2 separate regions of the Homo sapiens genome follow, and region 2 is linked to region 1. Evidence: promoter capture Hi-C in 16 types of primary human blood cells and fetal thymus (Javierre and others, 2016). All regions are on one chromosome and are shown on one strand. The core of a region is centred on a gene start or on the middle of the fragment in contact, and the rest is flanking DNA. Distances in the headings are between cores, read along the strand shown.

Region 1 (2,999 bases), core at 106-2,605:
AGACTCCTGGCACTATGTGAGCCCAGCCTGTCTTGACTTCAGGATCCCGCCTTCTAAGCTGTGTGGTCCATTCCGGGGGCAGTCGTCCATCTGGGCCCAGATCCCTGAGTCTATTTCCAGCCTCCCTGAGACCACCCAGAATTTCCTCTTCTTCCTGGGGACCCAGGCTTTTGCTGTGCCCCTTCTGCTGATCTCCAGGTGAGACGGCCCAGACTTCTGGGTCTGGGTTTGAATGCGTGTGATCTGGGGGCCACCACCTGCGTCCAAGAGAGGAGAGGCTTGGGCGTGGGAGCAGGCAACGTACTGAGTCTGAGGGAGGAGGCCTAGGCTCCTGGACTGCTGGGTCCGAAGGAGGAGGTGGGCGGGACGTAGGACTCCTGGATCTGAAGGCGGAGGGGCTGGGAGACTGAACTCCTTGAGCCCAGACGAGGAGGGGCTTAGGCGTCCACATCCCTGGCTTCGAAGGAGCCAGACGTTTGGATATAATGGAAGAGCGTGTCAGGAGTGGCTTCCGTTCCTGTCTCCTTCAGCATCCTGATGGCGTACACTGTGGCTCTGGCTAACTCCTACGGACGCCTCATCTCTGAGCTCAAACGTCAGAGAGAGACGGTGAGCCAGGCGGGTCCCTGAGAGGGCCCCTGGGGAACATGGAAAGGGGTTGGGGAAGAGGATTGTCTCACCTCCACCTCTCTTTGCCCCAGGAGGCGCAGAATAAAGTCTTCCTGGCACGGCGCGCTGTGGCGCTGACCTCCACCAAACCGGCTCTTTGACCCCCGCAGCCCACGTCCCGCTTTCAGACCCCAGGCCCATTGTAAGCCTAGGTCACAACATCTGTAAACTAGGAGAACTGGAGAAGACTCCACGCCCTTCCAGCTTTGGTATCTGGAGATTTCCAGGGCCCCTCGCCGCCACGTCCCTGACTCTCGGGTGATCTTCCTTGTATCAATAAATACAGCCGAGGTTGCTGAGCGCGCTTTGAAATCTGCGTCCTGAAGGTGGGGGCAGGGCTACAGCGGGGCAGGAGCCAATCAAATGTACGGGCATGTTTGTCGGTGCAGAGCGCTCTTCCGCAAGGAGACTTGTCGGTCATGTCGGCCAATCGACGGCCGCATCTGGTAGCATCAGGGGCGGGCCAACTTATGATTGGTTCAGATCTGTGACAAGAGGCGGTTGCTAGGGGATACCACGAGCCGAACGCCTAGCATTCGCTGTGATAAAGGGCGTCTCAGCCAATCACCTGTCGCTACAGGCCAGGGGGCCGTACCAACTAATTCGGAACCAATCCGCGGTCGAAGTAGGGACAAGAAAAAGGGGGGCATCCTCTCGCCAATCGGAAGTGCAAAGAGGCGGGCGTGCCAGTCCCTGGACAGCTACGACGCCATGAATATCTTGCCCAAGAAGAGCTGGCACGTCCGGAACAAGGACAATGTCGCCCGCGTGCGGCGTGACGAGGCCCAGGCCCGGGAGGAGGAGAAGGAGCGTGAGCGGAGGGTGCTGCTGGCTCAGCAAGAGGTAAGCTCGGAAGCCGGCAGGGCGGCGCTCCGGGGCCCAGCGCGCAGGCGCCGCGGTTGGGGGCCGGAAGCGGAGGCGTTGCGCAGGCTCAATGTGCCCCGTGTGAAATTCGGGACCAGGCGCCGATCCCACTTTCGAGGACGTTGCCCCGCAAACCTTGTGCCCACTTCCACGAAACCTTCCTTGATCTCGCCCTCGTCTTAGTTTTTCCCCCACTGATGTATTTCACATGGCTGGAACAGTGTCTAGCACAAAAGAGAAGCTTAACATTTAATGAATCCGTGAACCCTTGGACAGTTCAAGGAAATTCGGATCACTTTTTAGTTTGCCTGCACAGCCTATTTATTGAGCATCTACTGTATGCTAACTACATGCCGTGCACCTGACTTGCGGAATCCCCAATAAGCACTGTTCGTTCTTAGAGGGGCACTGTCATCTCTGTTGCACGAAGTGAGATGGCTTCAGTGAGGGGAAGGCACATTTTAAGGAGAGGCGGACAGCCAGGCTCCACGCCATCGGGCGAGCCCTTTCGTGCACCGCCCCCTAGACACATACACACAAACACGGGCTTTCCGTATGGCTCTTTAAATCTGTTTGGTGTACACCCAACTTTCATTTCCTTAGCTAGTCTGATCCTCCGCCGTGGGTGGGAGGTAGTCTAGGTTTTTAGAATCTCAGTAGGCTGCTGAGCGCTGTTTGAAATCCGCGTCCTGAAGGCAGGGGACAGGGCTTCAGCAGACTTGGGGTAGTCACTTGGAGCCATGGCTAGAATTCAGATCGTCTGGCCTAATGCATACCTTTATGGCTGTTTTAATTGTCTCACTTGAGGTTAGGAACCCCTTTGGTTTAGGCCAGGGACCTCCTCCCATACATCCTTGATGACCCGTGGTTTACTATTTGAAAGGGAGTTTACAAAACCCAGGCGTTGCCTCATCTGCCTACCCTCACCCCCAGCTAGGACAGGTGCCTCTTTTAGGCGCCTAGTGCTCCCTTTCTCATAACCCCAGCACCCTGGACTGCCATTTTCTGTGGTGGGCACCAGACTCACAGTTCTTGAATTACCTCTAGGTTCTGAATGTCCTGCCTATAACTTTCTCCCCAGGCCCGTACAGAATTCCTACGGAAGAAAGCCAGACATCAGAACTCACTGCCTGAGCTTGAAGCAGCAGAGGCGGGAGCCCCAGGTTCTGGCCCTGTGGACCTGTTTCGGGAGCTGCTGGAGGAAGGGAAAGGAGTGATCAGAGGCAATAAAGAGTACAAGGAAGAAAAGCGACAGGAGAAAGTAAGCTGGCCTCACCCACTTCATCAGAGGGGCCATGAATCGAGTTGGAGGGAGGGGGCACTTTAGCCATTGGTTGTGACCAAGGTCAAACAAGAGTGAACACACAGAATTTAGGACCATACCAAGGCATGACACTCAAAAAGCGTTGGCTATTGCCGTCTGGGCGCCCACAGGGGTTGGAGGTAGATGCTAGAGGTCCCCAGCT
Region 2 (3,024 bases), core at 21-2,520, 640 kb after region 1:
GCTGGGCATGGTGGCGTGCGCCTGTGGTCCCAGCTACTTGGGAGGCTGAGGCAGGAGAATCGCTTGAACCTGGGAACCGAGATCGCACCACTGCACTCCAGCCCTGGGCGACAGAGCAAGACTCTGTCTCAAAAAAAAAAAAAACAAAGAAAGAAAATAGGGCACACTTGTCCCCAGACCACAGTTAAAATCAATCAGAAATAAGAGGGCACAGGCATGTGAGTTTTTCAGAGAAATGCTGGAAAACTCTAGGAACTGGGGTTCTGAAACATGGAGCTGCCCCTCTCACCACCTCCCCGCCTCCCATGTCAGGTACCTCTTTCTTCCCCAAAAGGAATTCTATTCTTGAGGTTACTTCCTCTTGTCGTCCAGGTAGTGTGCACGGAGAGCACTTCTGGCTCCAAAACTGCCATCTCGTGACTTGTGAAGCCTTCTTCTTGGTCATTTTCACAATAGCGTAGAGCCTCTCACGTCACTTTGGGACCACTGCTCCCTAGCAGGTACCACATGGCTGGAAGGCCAAGGCACAGGAAGCAACGGAGACACTAGAAAGACAGGTGACATGGTCGCACACACCTGTGCTCACTCAAAAGGCCATGCACCCAGGCCCGATCCCGACCAGTCACAGCCGCACACTCGCTGGCCCTTTCACACCCACAGACGCTCACACCAGAGGGACACTGCCTGTCCCTGTCAACCTGACAGAAGTGCAAAGGCACATTTCAGAGACACGGAGACCCGTCCTGGCCGTGCCACCTCTGCAGACCCCACCAGCATTGACCTCGCACAGAACGGAGGTGCAGAGACACAGCCCGGCTGCGTCACCCCTACAGATGCCCTTACAGCCCGGCGCTATGGCCCTCATAGACGTCTACACACACCTGTGTCACAGTTTATGGGGACAGAGCCCGGCCGCGTCAACCCCGCATGCATCACGGCTTAGGGGAACGGGGCTTGTTCGCATTACCCCACAGACGAAGACAATTATCTCAGTCACTGGGCCACGGCGGGGCCCCACCAGGCAGCCTCTGGCTTATTCACACACACACACACACACACACACACACACTCACACACACTCCCACTTCCCTGCTCGCCGCTCCCGAAGCCTCAGGCCGAAGCTTCTTCATTTTAGGGCCTCCGCGTCCCGAGTGGCTCCCTCACCGCCATTCCCCGCGGAACCCTGCCCTGGCTTCCTCCTGGGAGGCAAATAGCTCCCGGCTCGAGGCCTAACCACACCCAGCACATCAGGAGGTGAAACAAGGTCTCAGGCGCAGTTGGGATAAGATCCAGGAGAAACCATTTTTAAAAATCCCGCGAGCATGAAGCACGCCCCTCAGCCGGCCACCCGGCTCGCTCCTCATTGGACTGTGCCCCAAGGCCCTCTGGGAAATGTAATGCGAAACCAGAGAAGCTTCGACGCAGCTGGAAGGGCGCCCGTCAGTGTTTCCCAGCATGCAACTCTACACGGCGCAAATGGAGCCGTGACCCAGAGGCCTCTGGGAAATGTAGTCCATAACCCGGAAATCCACAGAGTTGGAAGCGGCTGTCAGGATTTCCCAGCATGCAACTCTACGCGACCCTAAGGGCGTCCTGCCTTGAGGGCTTCTGGGAAATGTAGCTCATAACCCGGGAATCGACGTATCTGGAAGGGCGCCCATCAGTGTTTCCCTGCAGGCAACTGCACACGGCCCTAATGGAGCCATGCCCCAGAGACCTCTGGGAAATGCTCACTACGCGGGAATCCTTAGCGCTGGAAGCGCGGCCGTCAGAATGCTTTTCGTCGGTGTCTCCTCCCACTGTTAGAGCAGCTGCACCCCCCATAGACTTCTGGGAAAGCGTATTTCAGACTGGCAGAATCTTCAAATGCTGGAAGCCCTGTCGGCCTTCTCCTGCCCTGAAACTTTGCTTGCTCCTAAGGCGCACCACAAAAAATTCCTGGGAAAAGTGGTTCAGGCTCTAGGGGCCTACAGTTATAATTGCTTACAACTTGCATTTGGGATCCGTCCATAGGGAAGGCGTGTCCCCGCGTCCTTCTGGGAAGGAAATGTAGTCTGAAACGACCAGAAATCACGCCTGTAATCTCAGCACTTTGGGAGGCCGAGGCGGGTATATCACCTGAGATCAGGAGTTCGAGACCCTCCTGCCCAACATGGTGAAACCCCATCGCTCTAAAAATGCAAAAATTAGCCAGGCGTGGTGGTGTGTGCCTGTAATCCCAGCTACTTGGGAGGCTGAGGGAAGAGAATCGCTTGAACCCAGGAGGCAGAGGTTGCAGTGAGCCGAGATCACACCACTGCACTCCAGCCTGGGCGATAAGAGTGAAACAATGTCTCAAAATAATAATAATAATAATAATAAGCCCGGAAAGCTTAAAAGCTGTGATTTGGGAAAAGTTCAAAAATTTCCCAGCATGCAACATGGCCCTCCTTAGAAAAGAGCTGTGCCTCCAGAGCGTTCTTGGAAATACAGCCCCGAGCTGGAAATGCCTCTAGAAAGTGTTAGGTAGGGTGTTTACATGTGAGATTTTGGGGACGTTTCAGCACTGCCCTTTCCCCCACCCCCCAGTAGATTGGGGAGCTCCAGGCATGTGTGTAGGGACCTTGAGTAGGTTCCACGGGAGTGACCTGGTCCTGACTGGGTCTGTGCCAAGGCTCTCTCTGTAAGGGCAGGACTTTGCGTTTCGTTCTCTGATGCTGTCCCAGACTTGGGAGCACTGCCTGGCTCTTCAGATGTCTCTGTGAGTGTTACCTTGGTATGGGCGGGAGAGGCCTGGGCTGTATGGCTTGCTGCCCGGCAGGATATTGACAAGATGTTCTTATGATCAGGCGGTTTGGCCCTTTTTCCGGTGGGATCTCATCAGGATGTTCCTTGGACCTTTGCCAAGAAAGATATGATAGGGATGGTTTTTGTAGTTGGGCCTTTGCCCAGTAGGACATGATGAGAATGTTTCTTTAATTGGGTCTTTGTTCGCCTTGTGGTCAGGTGGTTAGGCAGGATATTTCTCACTGCCTGAACCCCTGT

The links. The method cuts DNA at HindIII sites, captures the fragments that hold promoters and counts their contacts. A CHiCAGO score of 5 or more calls a contact.
Region 2: a fragment that was not itself captured here is called in contact with the fragment with the promoter of LENG1 in region 1 in 2 of 17 cell types (fetal thymus and naive CD4 T cells); the score reaches 8.8 in fetal thymus.

Annotation. Positions count from the first base shown.
Region 1 is chr19:54,158,077-54,161,075 of GRCh38, reverse strand. It overlaps LENG1 (leukocyte receptor cluster member 1), which reads left to right and starts at 1,355. Exons shown (of 4, transcript NM_024316.3): 1 at 1,355-1,512; 2 at 2,615-2,794. The coding sequence starts at 1,381. TMC4 (transmembrane channel like 4) reads left to right here. Exons shown (of 15, transcript NM_144686.4): 13 at 43-198; 14 at 531-609; 15 at 702-968. The coding sequence ends at 770. RefSeq lists an enhancer at 1,353-2,022. The HindIII fragment of the contact is 1,716 bases long and covers 61-1,776 here.
Region 2 is chr19:53,519,377-53,522,400 of GRCh38, reverse strand. It overlaps a transcript of ZNF331 not described here. Among named protein-coding and RNA genes, the nearest start is that of ZNF331, 17 kb to the left of the region's middle. RefSeq lists enhancers at 355-1,128, 1,439-1,638, 1,129-1,902, 1,903-2,677. The HindIII fragment of the contact is 293 bases long and covers 1,124-1,416 here.